Regions from separate parts of the Homo sapiens genome. Here all the other regions are linked to region 1. The links are contacts of gene promoters, found by promoter capture Hi-C in blood cells and fetal thymus (Javierre and others, 2016). All regions are on one chromosome and are shown on one strand. The core of a region is centred on a gene start or on the middle of the fragment in contact, and the rest is flanking DNA. Distances in the headings are between cores, read along the strand shown.

Evidence for each region. Contacts are between HindIII fragments. The CHiCAGO score rates a contact against its expected background, and 5 or more counts as called.
Region 2: a contact is called between a fragment that was not itself captured here and the fragment with the promoter of NDUFS1 in region 1, in 2 of 17 cell types (non-activated CD4 T cells and monocytes). The highest score is 10.7, in non-activated CD4 T cells.
Region 3: a contact is called between the fragment with the promoter of CFLAR here and the fragment with the promoter of NDUFS1 in region 1, in 1 of 17 cell types (fetal thymus). The highest score is 5.2, in fetal thymus.

Annotation. Positions count from the first base shown.
Region 1 is chr2:206,156,841-206,161,249 of GRCh38, reverse strand. It overlaps NDUFS1 (NADH:ubiquinone oxidoreductase core subunit S1), which reads left to right and starts at 1,806. Exons shown (of 19, transcript NM_005006.7): 1 at 1,806-1,909. It overlaps EEF1B2 (eukaryotic translation elongation factor 1 beta 2), which reads right to left and starts at 1,355. Exons shown (of 6, transcript NM_001959.4): 1 at 1,191-1,355; 2 at 540-662. The coding sequence starts at 1,270. RefSeq lists a silencer at 1,019-1,088 and enhancers at 1,349-1,608, 1,719-2,128. The HindIII fragment of the contact is 3,079 bases long and covers 1-2,965 here.
Region 2 is chr2:200,807,067-200,811,475 of GRCh38, reverse strand. All of the region lies in intron 1 of BZW1-AS1 (BZW1 antisense RNA 1), which reads left to right. Among named protein-coding and RNA genes, the nearest start is that of BZW1, 2.6 kb to the left of the region's middle. RefSeq lists a silencer at 1-42 and an enhancer at 93-352. The HindIII fragment of the contact is 1,234 bases long and covers 1,630-2,863 here.
Region 3 is chr2:201,114,225-201,118,633 of GRCh38, reverse strand. It overlaps CFLAR (CASP8 and FADD like apoptosis regulator), which reads right to left and starts at 2,470. Exons shown (of 10, transcript NM_003879.7): 1 at 2,153-2,470. LOC105373836 (a long non-coding RNA gene) reads left to right here and starts at 1,950. Exons shown (of 3, transcript XR_923785.3): 1 at 1,950-3,690. RefSeq lists enhancers at 1-44, 1-186, 535-584, 2,225-2,484 and a silencer at 1,985-2,194. The HindIII fragment of the contact is 6,122 bases long and covers 1,435-4,409 here.

The DNA.
Region 1 (4,409 bases), core at 557-3,056:
ATCCCTTTTGCAATCATAATTTACCCTTTCACATGCGCCCAGGTAAACACTGTCATATGTTCAACTCCTCACCCGACAAGCATTAGTACCATGTGAGACATTATTTTCAATACTCACTATGATTTACTCTTTCAGTATGAACATTTCTGTTTGAGATTTCATTAAGTATGCTCAGTTCCATTCTTAGTGAACTGGAGTCCACTTCCCCAAACTTCCACCCTTGTTGGCAGTTTCAGAAGAATGGCCAAGGACTGAATGAATGAGCCACCCTCTCACCCCAGAGGTGGGCCCCCCAGGTCAAGGTCGAGGCACATTGGCAGGGCAGTGTGGGGAAAAGTTGAATTGCTGCTGTCCATGTTCTACCTGTTCTGTGAAAAAATGGAGGGCTTCAGTCTCTTGGCCTTCTAAGGTTACAGAAAAATTTAGCTTACAATATCCCAACAAAACTAAAGTAGCCTGGGTCCAGTTTTGTCATGTGAACATCCTGATAAACTTCGAGAGCAGTCTTATTCTTCAGCTCTATACAAAGATGATTTTACCTGGCCTTTTCCTTTTCGTAAGACTTGATGTGATTATACCAACGTAGGGCATGACACAAGTCGGCAGGCGGTGGGCTGGACACGGCTTCAAATACTGCCACATCTGCTTGTGATGGCACATACCTGCCAAGGACACAGAAACATTCACACACACCTTTGAAAAACAAACGCCAGCGAATAAATAATAAATACCGTATGCATCACATTAATTAGTGGGCACTAACCCCAGCAGGGTTGCTTTAATGCTTTTCTTTTCTTATTAGCTCCTTCAAATCAAACCATATGTTTGGGTCACCGCGCTATCCTGAGAAATGTCTGCCACTAAGTAGACCTCAAATACTGCAATGTCTGGCGTTGCTCTATCTACAGCTTAACATGTATTAACTGGGCAGCGATGCGGAAACACCTGGCTGAATTAAGTGTAAATAAAGCACATTTTAACCTTTCCTTGCTCGTGAACCGCTCCCCGGAGGCCGGGCTCGCCCCACACGAGGGCCTTGGGAGACGGCAACGGGGCGCTTTCCCCTCCCTCTCGAAAGGGCCCCGGGCCCGGCCTCCCTCCCTCCCGCGGCAGCCGACACGCTGCGCCACGTGGCCCCGGCCCCGGGCGGAGAAACCTCCCCGCCACCCCGACTCAGCCCGTCCGCTCACCCCTCGATGTAGCTCTTGTCCGCCAGGTAATCGTTGAGCACCTGGAGGCCGGCAGGGCTTTTCAGGTCTCCGAAACCCATGGTGTCGGCTGTATCCGAGAGCTGGGGAGCAGCAGAAAGAGAGCGCGCAAATTGTGGGCGCCCCACGCTGAAGAGAGGAAAAAGGACCCGAAGAGACCGGAAAATTCCTTATATAGAGACGGAGGCGTTTCCCTCCACCGCGCCGGACCGAAGGTTAAAGGTCAAAGTACTTTTGCATTCCCACTTCTCCACGTACGAATTGGGGGCCCTGAATTAAATGGCCCACAAATTGTCCATGGACCTTTCGTTGCGTTTGGAAGTAAATTAATAAAATAGGCATGTCTTAAGTTCGTACCTCCACGGCTCCCGAAGATGACGGGAACCAGCCCTAGAAGCGCCGGAGATGACCGAAGACGCCCGGCCTCGAGGCTGGGGCCACTTCCGGCGGAACTGCGGGTCCAAGTTGTCCTTCCCGCCTCCGGGCTGGGCCGACCTCAGCTCCGCCCTCTGGTCGGCTGACGGAAATTGCCGACAAACTTGTCGAATGCAAGGATTCTAGTCCCTCCGGGCTTTCCGTTCTCCAGGCCCGGCTGACAGAGTTAGCCGAGGCCGCCATATTGAATAAGCGACCCGGCCTCCTAGGGGGTCGTCGTGGTCCAGACAGTTTAGCAGAACAGCCTCCGCGGCTCCGGGGAGAAGGTGAGGTCTTGTATGGATGGGAAGGGTGAGGTGCGTCGGCCAGAGGCTTATTTATTGACGGGACTGTTTCCTTTGGCCCACGCGACGTAGTCTTCTGTTGTCCTTGACTGGGCGCCGCCTCCCGCCCCGCCGCCTCGGAAGCCCCTGAGAGCCGGCAGATGGGGGGCTTTTAGCCACGGTCTCTGGTCTGATGAAGCAGAAAAGAAGATGAGGATCAGGGGGTCCTCGGGAACGCTGTCACGAATGTAGGCTTGCAGGTGACCTTCCCTCTGCAGGGAAAATTCAGGACATTTCCCTCTCAGAGGAGGAGGCCGTTTTATTCCCCGGGAGAGGACCAGTGTCCGATGACTTAGGCCTTAAGACTAAGCCTTTCCCCCCAGATTTTTACACGCCTGATACAGTGCATGATTGTTTGGTCGCTGTTGTGTTAGCAATGGCTCACGCTTCTGTTTGTTGTCCTTGTTTGTTTGGTCCATTGACCACGTTGGACAGCATTTTTTTATTCCTTTAACTAACGGGAAATTGAGAAAAACGACTTTTGAAAAGTTAGCCCAGGATTGCATTGCAAATAACAAAACGTTGTTTACAGGTTATTGGGATCCAGTGCTTGAACTGTAAGGTCTTGGATCAGACACAACTCTGTTCACACACGAATTGACGGTATAGAAGTGTAACGTTAACTGTTTTTGATGAATAAACAAGTTATTTTTGTTTTGCGGAATATTCTTGTTTTCACCGACTTAAGGCTGCCAGAGCACCTGCACTTTTTAAATCCGGGAAAGTGGTCTCTACAAATTAACGACCAGAAATTAGAGATTCAGTTCACTTAACCGTTATTGAACATTTACTACGAGCCAGAAATGAGTCCGTAAAGAAGAATAAAATGGATGATATGCTGGGGGAATCGTAAATGTTAGATAGCCTGGTCAATGAAACTGAGAAAAGGCTTTTAAGCCAAGATTTGAAGGATAAGGAGGGGCCAGGGAAGAGCATTTCAGTCTGAGGTCACAGCCGGTGGCAAGAGGGGAGAGGCTGTGTGGGAATAGTGTGGAAGCTTGGTGACCTGTTAAGCTATTGAAGGCCGGAGGCGGTGGCTCACTCCTGTAATCCCACCACTTTGGGAGGCCGAGGCGGGCGGATCACGAGGCCAGGAGATCGAGACCATCCTGGCTAACACGGTGAAACCCTGTCTCTACTAAAAATACAAAAAATTAGCTGGGCGTGGTGGCGGGCGCCTGTAGTCCAGCTACTTGGGAGGCTGAGGCAGGAGGCTGGCGTGAACCCGGGTGGCGGGGCTTGCAGTGAGCCGAGATCGCTCCGCTGCACTCCAGCCTGGGCGACAGAGCGAGACTCTGTCTCAAAAAAAAAAAAAAAAAAGCTATTGAAATACTCCAGGCAAGGAGTGATGGTGGATTGGGATAGGGTGGTACCTTGGAAGGCAAGAAGTAAATGGATGGATCCATGTTGGAGAACGTGGAATAGCATAGTCCCTATATGGAAAAGTATCCAGTCTAGTTTAAGAAATGATTAGTCATTAACATTTTCCATCCAAAGAGATAATTATTTCTATTGCTACTTGGCATATCAATGTTCAAAGCACATATCGAAGTGTTGCAAATCTGTATTTCTTATGTTGGGCTATGCTTTGTTGCTGGATGTCAACAGTCTAGTTCTAGTTGATTTCCTATCCAAAGTGAGTACTATTTTTATATTGCATTGGAGATAAAAAAGTATTAAAGTTTTAAAATTGTATGAAATACTGATTGTTGATTTCAAATCTGTCAGTGCTCTAATGGAGTAAGTTTAGGTTTATATTTATGCCATCAGTAGTTTTTAATAGGACAGATGCTACTCTAGTTCTAGAACTTGGTGATAAGACTGTTTGGTGGTTATTTTCATAAGGGTCCTGTGCTAGGTCTTCAAAAAAGGGAAATGTCCAAATTCCTTGTCCTCAAGGAGCTTACAGTCTGGTAGGTACTAAAATTGATTACTAACCTACAGTTTAGTAAGTAAAACAAAAATATCTACACAGTGTGTACTGGTACTAAAGAAAAAGAGCTCAAAGAAAGAGTGCTTTAAAATTGGTTGTCTGCCAGGCGCGGTGACTCACGTCTGTAATCCCAACACGTTGGGAGGTCGACGCGGGTGGATCACTGAGGTCAGGAGTTTGAGACCAGCCTGGCCAACATGGCGAAACCCCTTCTCTACTGAAAATACAAAAATTAGCCGGGCGTGATGACAGGTGCCTGTAATCCCAGCTACTTGGGAGGCAAGAGAATTGCTTGAACTTGGGAGGCGGAGGTTGCAGTGAGTCAAGATCACACCATTGCACTACAACCTGGGTGACAGAGTGAGACTCTGTCTCAAAACACACACACATACTGATTGTCAGTGGCCAGTATTGCCTAAGTTGAATTCAGCTTTAACTGGCATTTGTTGAGCCCCTACTAATAGCTCATTGTCTAGGAAGTATTGTTTTCCTCCTGCTCTATAAGTAAAG
Region 2 (4,409 bases), core at 997-3,496, 5.4 Mb after region 1:
TGGGGAAGGAATCCGCACCTCGCCTCCGCCCTGGCCGGGATGGGCGGAGTTCGCTCCAGCTGAGTCCCCTGCCTGGCGACTTTTCTCTGAGGGGCTGTCTCATTGTTCACTACCTCCCTTAAGAGCGAAGAGGACACAGGCCGAAGATTGAGAAGGGGAAATTCTGTCCTCCAACCGCGGTCCCTGCGCGCTGCAGCGGTTGTCTCCCGAGTGTGGTGGCTATGGGGACTTGGAGAGCATCAGAATCCCTTGGAGGACTTGTTATAACAGACTGCTGGGCCCCACCCGTAGTTTCTCATTCTGTAGGCCTGGTGTGGAACCCATGAATGTGCATTTCCAACAAGTTATCTGTGATGCTGCTGCTGGTCCGCACCTTGAGAACCCCTCAGTTAGAGGCTATATCATCAGGGAGCTGGGGTACGATCAGATTAGATAGTGCGTGTGAAAAGCACTGTGGACGTGACAAAACTCTGTGCAGATAAAGATGCACAGCGCCTCTAGGATGTAGCCCCATGTTTTTATTCACTGTACAGTAGTTTACTTCTCTCCAGTTGCTTCCTCACTCTCTGGTAGGAGGAGAGTGGCTTCTCTTCCCTAAACCTTTTGATAAAATAGTTTGTTGACTTCTTTTCCCTAATTAACTATCTGACCTCTACCCCACCCCCCCGCAACTTCATGGAAAAATGACTTTCTCAGCGTTCGTTCCTGAAATTATTGCCAAACCCAGTGTTTTATTCTTCACCCTGTTTGCCTCCTCTGAGCATTGAATGTTACCTACCTCTCTCCTTGAATCCTGGCTCCAGCTATCCTGGTTACGTTCTGAATGTGCCTTTGCACGGTATTTTCTGACTCTTCTTTTCTGTACTGATACCTTTTCTTTCTGGATACTTTCTTCTATGGCAGTCTCATACATTCTCAAGGATTTAACATTTACTCCACTTAAAAGAGTTCCAAGATCATCTACTGAATCATTAAGCAAATATTTGTTAAATCCAGGCTCTATGCCCTTCCAAGTTGAGGCAACAGCAGTGGGAAGGAGGCAGGAAACAAACTGCATCTGTTGGAGGAACTGCAAGAAGCTAGTGTGATTGGGAGGGCTGTGGGGAGCAGAGGGAAGTGGCTGGAGTCTGATCTCTAAGTGTCTAGCCCCTTCCTTTCTCCCAAGGCCCCAGTCCACACTATCTGGCATCTTCACTTCATGGCTAATTTAACACTGTCAGTGCTGTCAATTGCTCTTCCCCCAGAACTGTATTTTTCACATCTGAAGTTCTGTTAAAGGACAACGTTTCACAAATAAAAATGATAACTAATATGTCCCTATATGTATCAGGCCCTCTTCTATGCACTTTATGTAGTAACCCCATTTCATCCTGAAAACTACCCTGTAATCTAGACACTATTATTAGTCCCATTTTACAGATGGAAAAGCCGAGGCATCGAGGTCAGGTAACTTGTCTAAGATCATAGCGCTAGTAAGTGGAAGAGGTCCAGTTGAACCCAAGCAGTCTGGCTTCACCATTATAATGCACCGCCTTACCACCAAGATCTTATTTATTCATTCAACAAATATTTATTCAGCTAGAGACCAGTAGAGATAGTGACATGTTACGCCTATGGCCTCACAAAGCTTATCTTCTATTTTTGCCACGTTTTAAAATTGTATCATCTTTCCCCAGTACCATCTTGATTTAGGCATCTATTACCCCTAACTAAATGGGACTTTTGCAATAACTTCCTAACTGTACTATCCCCTTTCTCAACATTTCCAGAGCAATCTTCTCAACTGCAAGCTGAATCATTTCTCTTCACTGTTTAAATGCCTCTGTTTATACTCAGGGATAGCTCTGACCAATGTTTTTCACCTTTACTTCCCATCACATTTGTGGTTCTTAACCTGTTATTACCATCATTGTGGGGTATGTAGCAAATGATTTTTGACTAAAAATGATATTAAAGTAAGCAGATTATTTTCTTTAAAATGTAAAGTGGATTAAAGGTTTTCCTGAACTCCTGGCCTCAAATAATCCTCCCACCTTGGCCTCCTGAAGTGTTGGGATTACAGACCACACCTTGCCACTTATCTTTTCTCTGCTTTTGGGTGCACCCATGGGAATAGGCACCGTGCAGCTAGCAGGGGAAACGTTGTTTGTGAATTGTATTATGGTAGGAAAAGGTTCCAAACAATTGAACTCTATGCTTTGGTCAGACAGGACACATCTTGTCTTGACCTTTCTTGAGATGTCCTTCCCTCATTTTCCACTGTCAAAATCCCACTATTGTTTCAAGCCTTATCTCAACTACTGCTTTTTTCCCATAAGCCTTTCTTAGTCATGGATGTGAACACATTCCTTCTTTGTAATTGGGCTACAGGCATGAGCCACTGAGTCTGCTAATTTTTTTTTTTTTTTTTTGGTGATGATGGGGTTTTGCTTTGTGGCCCAGGCTGGTCTCAAACTCCTGGCCTTAGGTGAGCCTCCCGCCTCAGCCTCCCAAAGTGCTGAGATTATAGGTGTGAATCATCACGCCTAGCCTTGCCCAGTTTTATGGTTGTTTTGGGAAAAAGGATATGCTGATTTCTTCACTCTGCCATTGCTGTGAATCCCCCTTAGTACTTTTGGATTTAAAAATTTTGAACTACTTAAAAAGAAAGGTGCTAAGTGCAACATGTGAATGTGCTACTGCTTTTAACTTCATTGATGGGAATGGATACCTAAGTGTTTCTTTTTTAAAAGCAAGTGACAATAGGTTTTTATTCCTAACAACTAGAAGAATATCAAGGGCCTGTTTTGAAAAGCACATTGTTGCCCTTGGAAAATGAGCTGGGGGAAGTATTTATTCCTATGCTTTGAGTCTTGTAGAAGCTTATAGAACATCCTATGAACCTGGCTTAAATATTGTAGCATATGTATATGAAATACTTCTAGTTACACACACCTATATATGTATGCATATATTTATGTATGTATGTGTGGCCAGAAGTATTTTCATAGGCTCCACAAAATTTTTACAGTGAAAAAGCTTTGAGGTACAATGAGCTTTTAAATAATTTCATTTTAGGTAAAAAATGTGTTAAATATCATTCACTTGCTACATATCTCATATATACCATTTCTTTTACTTCTTCATAGAATTATTTTAATAGTTATAATTATTAATAATATTTGACATAATCAAGATAAAAAGCATTGCTTAGTTACATTAACATTTTAGTAATATTTGTTAAATAAATACCCTCTTTTAGCAAACACACTCTATTATTTAGATTTTAGTTTTTTTTTTTTTTTTAATAGAGACAGGATCTGGTTATGTTGCCCAGAATGACCTCCAACTCATGGGCTTTAGCAATCCTCCCACCTCTGCCTCTCAAAATGTTGGGATTTATAGGCGTGAGCCACCACACCTGGACTCGATTTTTGAATAGGCCGAAATAATTGGGAAGCTTAGGGATTCAAGAAATTTGGCATACATGCATTTTCTGTTTCTCTCTCTCCCCTCTTAACATCAGAATAATGACAGGTTAAGGTGAAAACTCTTTGCTCCTGTAAAGTGCTTGTTCAGAATATAGTTTGAAGTGAGTTGCCAAATAAGTGATATTTGGGGTGATTTAAATATGTGCATTCTAAGTTATATAGCATTCAAGACATTCATTAAAACGAAGCAAAATAAAAACCAACAAGAGAACAGTGTAATGGCATGTGGTATGTTAGCTATAGGATTGTTTAGAAAAAACTGTTTACTGCTTATTATTAATAGTTCATATCTCCTAGAATATTACTGCAGAACTGAAGATTAAGAAATGTTACTAAGAGGCCGGACGTGGTGGCTCACGCCTGTAATCCCAGCACTTTGGGAGGCCGAGGCGGGCGGATCACGAGGTCAGGAGATCGAGACCATCCTGGCTAACACGGTGAAACCCCGTCTCTACTAAAAATACAAATTAACCGGGCGTGGTGGCGGGCGCCTGTAGTCCCAGCTACTCAGGAGGCTGAGGCAGGAGAATGGTGTGAACCCGGGAGGCAGAGCTTGCAGTGAGCCGAGATCCCGCCACTGCACTCCAGTCTGGGCGACAGAGTGAGACTCCGTCTCAAAAAAAAAAAAAAAGAAATGTTACTAAGGACGCCAGATCCAAACATCTCTGTGTTGGAAAATTATCTCCAATGCATAACGGTTTCCTTGGCATATTTAGATGGCCATCTTTCTTTGATGTCTTTTTTAAAACCTACATTTCATTTTTTGGGAGCCTCAGTGCGATGGAATTTTTTTTTTTTTTTTTTTGAGACGGAGTCTCTCTCTGTTGCCCAGGCTGGAGTGCAGTGGTGCGATCTTCACTCACTGCAACCTCCGCCTCCCGGGTGCAAGCGATTCTCCTGCCTCAGCCTCCTGAGTAGCTGGGATTACAGGTGCGTGCC
Region 3 (4,409 bases), core at 1,221-3,720, 5.0 Mb after region 1:
TCTGCGGAATTCCCCGCCCCCCGCGCAGTTGAAACTTGCACAGGGCCACTCGCGTGTCTCTGGGTGGTAAAATTCTCCATGCGTGGTCAAACGGCTTATGCATAGCTCAGGACCGTTACGTGCGACCCCACCAGGACTGAGTGGGGACAGCCGCTGCGCCCCCACCACCTACTAGGAGCTGCGGTAGGACCTCCAATGCCCCAGGGGCCTAGGCAATTTCCGCTTCAGCTTCCTGGAGGTCCCCAGCCCAAGGCTCAAAAAACTGCACACTATCCGGCCCACCCCGGGTCGCGCAAGACTTTCGGGGGGAGGGGGAAACCCAGCGACCCTGCAAATGGCTTCACCTTGGAAACCGGTATAAGGAAGCAAGTAATACCGTGTTAAAAGAAGGTCAAATGTCAGTTACAAACAGAAACGTAAAACATAAAGTCGCTAGAGAAAGCCATTTTAACGAGGACATTTGACCCAAAAGCTTAAGTAAAGCAAGTATTAACAAAACAAGAAAATGGATGTAAAGCAAACAGTAAACATTAAAAACTCCCTTTCAACCCAGTCTTTTTTGTTTAGATCTTGGAGTTGGGCCGGGCATGGTGGCTCACGCCTGTAATCCCAGCACTTTGGGATGCCGAGGCGGGCGGATCACCTAAGGTCAGGAGTTCGAGACCAGACTGACCAACATGGAGAAACCCCGTCTCTATTAAAAATACAAAACTAGCCGGGCATGGTGGTGCATGCCTGTAATCTCAGCTACTTGAGAGGCTGAGGCACGAGAATCGCTTGAACCCGACAGGCGGAGGTTGCGGTGAGCAGAGATAGTGCCATTGCATTCCAGCCTGGGCAACAAGAGTGAAATGCTGTCTCAAAAAAAAAAAAAAAAAAAAAAGATCTTGGAGCTCCAGCCAGGTTTTTTGTTCAACGAAACTTTTGTAAGGTTATTTAGGGGAATCACCAAACCGAAAAGTGCCAAAAACTCCGTTCCTCTTATCGGAAATCTCTCTCTAAAGCAGGTCAAACCTTCCAGAGCCCGCTGTCTGTTGTAGATTATCGCAGTTTGTTGATGTCCAAAAAGCTTTACTTATGCTATACGCTATCCCCCTACTGGTTTCACCCCTCATTGCTTAAGAACAAATTTCAAATGTCAACCAATTAAAATATTCGCAAGACCTCTGGCGTCCTTGAATTTACTTCCTGCCCGTGGAGCCAAAAACTGATTCTGAATTTCAGTGGCCTTTGTTCTACTGCGTGCCACTGTTAATATTAAAAGAACATGGCCTTCTGTCCAAATCCAGACACCCTCAAGCAAGAACATCTTGAAGCCAGTTTACATTTCCCAGTCGTTTTGAGGCGGTGGAAAAGTGGCAGAAACAGGTTCATTTTAAAAGGCTCTAAAAACTTTTCATTAGCCAAGCATTCCCAGCTTTCCCAAGGCAAGCTTTCCTTGCACTTGGGCAAAATAGACATTAAACTGCTCTGGAAAATAACCGCCCTGACCAGGCTATTGTGAAATTCCCTCCAGGGCGGCGGCTCCCACTGAGTGAGATCGAGCGCATACACAATTGTTGGGAAAGTCCACGTTCCCAACAACTTTCGAAAGGAAAAATGCCAGATCTTCTCAACAGTTCACCCCAAGAATTGAACTCTCAAGATCATTTTAAGCAAAGTTTACACGACGCTGAGGGCCCGCCACTGAAGCTCGCGGGTGGGCCTCTGGGGCTGCGGCTGCAGGGGGCGGCCAGAGTTGGCCAAGGGTTACTTCCGGTCTCTCAGGTCCATCGGGGTGCAGCTTGTACCGCTGTGGCCCAGGTCGCCCCTTTCTGGGAATCCGGGGCGGAGTTGCGGGTAGAAGGGGTTCGGGGGTTCGGAGCCGGGCGGAAACGGAAGCGGGGGCATTCCGCAAAGCCCGCGGTAAACAACCGAGATAAGGAACCTACAAAACTGAGTCAGGTTCCAGAAGCGCCCCCGCCATCCCCTGGCCACTGCCGGCCACCTGCAGTTTCCCGGAGCGCAGGGCTGTGAGGAGCGGCGCGGGGTGGGACGCGGGGCGCGGCGGCGCAGGGCCTGCTGCAATGCTGACTCAGGGCCGGGCGTCGGGGCTTGGGGTCTGGGACAGCTCCGGCGCCGCCAGCGCGGGGGTCGAGCGCGGGGCACGTACCGTCCTGTCGCGGCCGGACTCTCCTGCCGCTGCCACCTCAGCCTTCGCTCCCCTAGACGCCGGGAAGGCGCACCCAAGATGGAGGCAAAGAAACCGAAAGCCTGGAAGCGGACTTGGTGCTGGGCGATCGCTGTTCGCGGCGCTTCTCTCCTACACCTCCTCCCGTGGTCCTTGTTGTCTCAGCTGTCACTGGACAAAAGTCCAATAGCCGGCACTCACTGTGTGAGGCCGAGTCCCCACCCCTAGCTCCGGGAGTCCCTTTTAGTTGAGACTCGTCGGTGAGGCTGCAAGCTCGCTGTTTCCTGCTATGGCTTGTGTGACTGAGTATGCAGTAACCGGGGGTGGATGTCGACACAAGTTCCACGCGTTAGGAGTAAACACTGCGAGTGTTTTTTTTTTTCTTTCTTTCTTTCCTTCTTTTTTGAGACAGAGTCTCGCTCTGTGGCCCAGGCTGGAGTGCAGTGGCGCAATTTCAGCTCACTGCAACCTCCGCCTTCCTAGTTCAAGCGATTCTCTTGCCTCAGCCTCCCGAGTAGCTGGGACTACAGGCACGCGCCAGCACGCCCGCCTAATTTTTGTGTTTAGTAGAGACGGGGTTTCACTGTTGGCCAGAATGGTCTCGAACTCTTGACCTCGTGATCCGCCCGCCTCGGCCTCCCAAAGTGCTGGGATTACAGGCGTGAGCCACCACGCCCGGCGCGAGTGTTTACAATTGTTGTCTGGGAGTCATAGCAAACGTGAACACACTTTGTGGTTTTTTGTGTGTATGTTTTTGTTTGTTTTTTTTTGTTTTCCTTCTTGAGACAGGGTCTCGCGCTGTCGCCCAGGCTAGAAGGCAGTGGCGCCATCACAGCTCACTGCAGCCTGGATTTCCCGCTCTCAAACCATCCAGCCCTCAGCCTCCCAAGTAGCGGGGACCACAGGTGCAAGCCACCATGCCCGACTAATTTTTTTTTTTTTTTGTATTTTTAGTAGAGATGGGGTTTCACCATGTTGGCAAGGCTGGTCTCCAACTGCTGGCCTCAAGTGATCCTTGCCCGCCTCGGCCTCCCAAAGTGCTGGGATCACAGGCGTGAGCCACCGCGCCCCTCTACGTTTTTATTTATTCCTAATAACTACTTTATTGTGATTCTTAAAGAGCTTTAACTTTTCTTGAGATAATTTTAAACTCACAGGAAAGGTGAAGAATAATACCAAGAGAGACTAACAGCAGGACGGCATGAAGAGCTCGGGATTCACCCCTAGTGAAACTGAAAATTATTTAAAACAACAAACAACCATTAACCATTTAAAGCCTTTGAAATGGTCCTAAGGGCAAACAGCAAATGAAGAAACATCTGTTCCAAAAAATCTATGAAAACTCTTGGATCAGAATGTGAGAGTCAGTCTGTGGTATTTAAACCAAACCTCTCCCTTTGTTCAGCAAGAGACTCCACTCCAGACTGCTGCAACTCAGAACCTCTCTCTTCCCACAGCTCCCAGTCAGAGACCAGCATATCAGCATTTCTCATCTTGCCCCTAGCTACCTGATGCTGAAGGTAAATCCTGGGGGAGTGTGGTGGAGAGGTGGGAGATTCCTTCTTCCATCCAGAGGCTCTACCTTGGGTGGAGTGCTGAGACACCAGAGGAGACTTCAGCTCTTTTTCTCCATCACTTTCACCCCATATTCACCCCCAACCTTTTTTTTTAATCTCTCCATCTTCCCAAGATAGTTATATTCTGTTTGATTAATCTTCAGTATATATGCTATTATAATCATGTAAACGGTAGTCACAGCCAAGTTATGTACCAAACTATGATTACTTTTCCTTTCCCACACAACTTTTAGTTTTTTCTGGAGTTAATAATTGTCTTGTTTTGTTGGTTTTTCCATGTAATTCTATCCTAAACTCTGTCAGTTATCCAAGTTTGGTTTTTTGTTTGTTTTTGAGACAGGGTCTCACTCCAGGCTGGAGTGCAGTGACCCGATCACAGCTCACTGCAGCCTTAACCTCCCAGGTTCAAGTGATCCTTCTGCCTCAGCCTCCTGAGTAGCTAGGACTACAGGTCCTAGCATGCCACCATGCTAGGTGTGCCACTACAGGTGCCACCATGCCCAGCTAATTCTTTAAAAAAAAATTTGTGGCCCGGCGCAATGGCTTATGCCTGTAATCCCAGCACTTTGGGAGGCTGAGGCGGGTGGATCACGAGGTCAGGAGTTCAAGACCAGCCTGGCCCAGATAGTGAAACCCCATCTCTACTAAAAATACAAAAAATT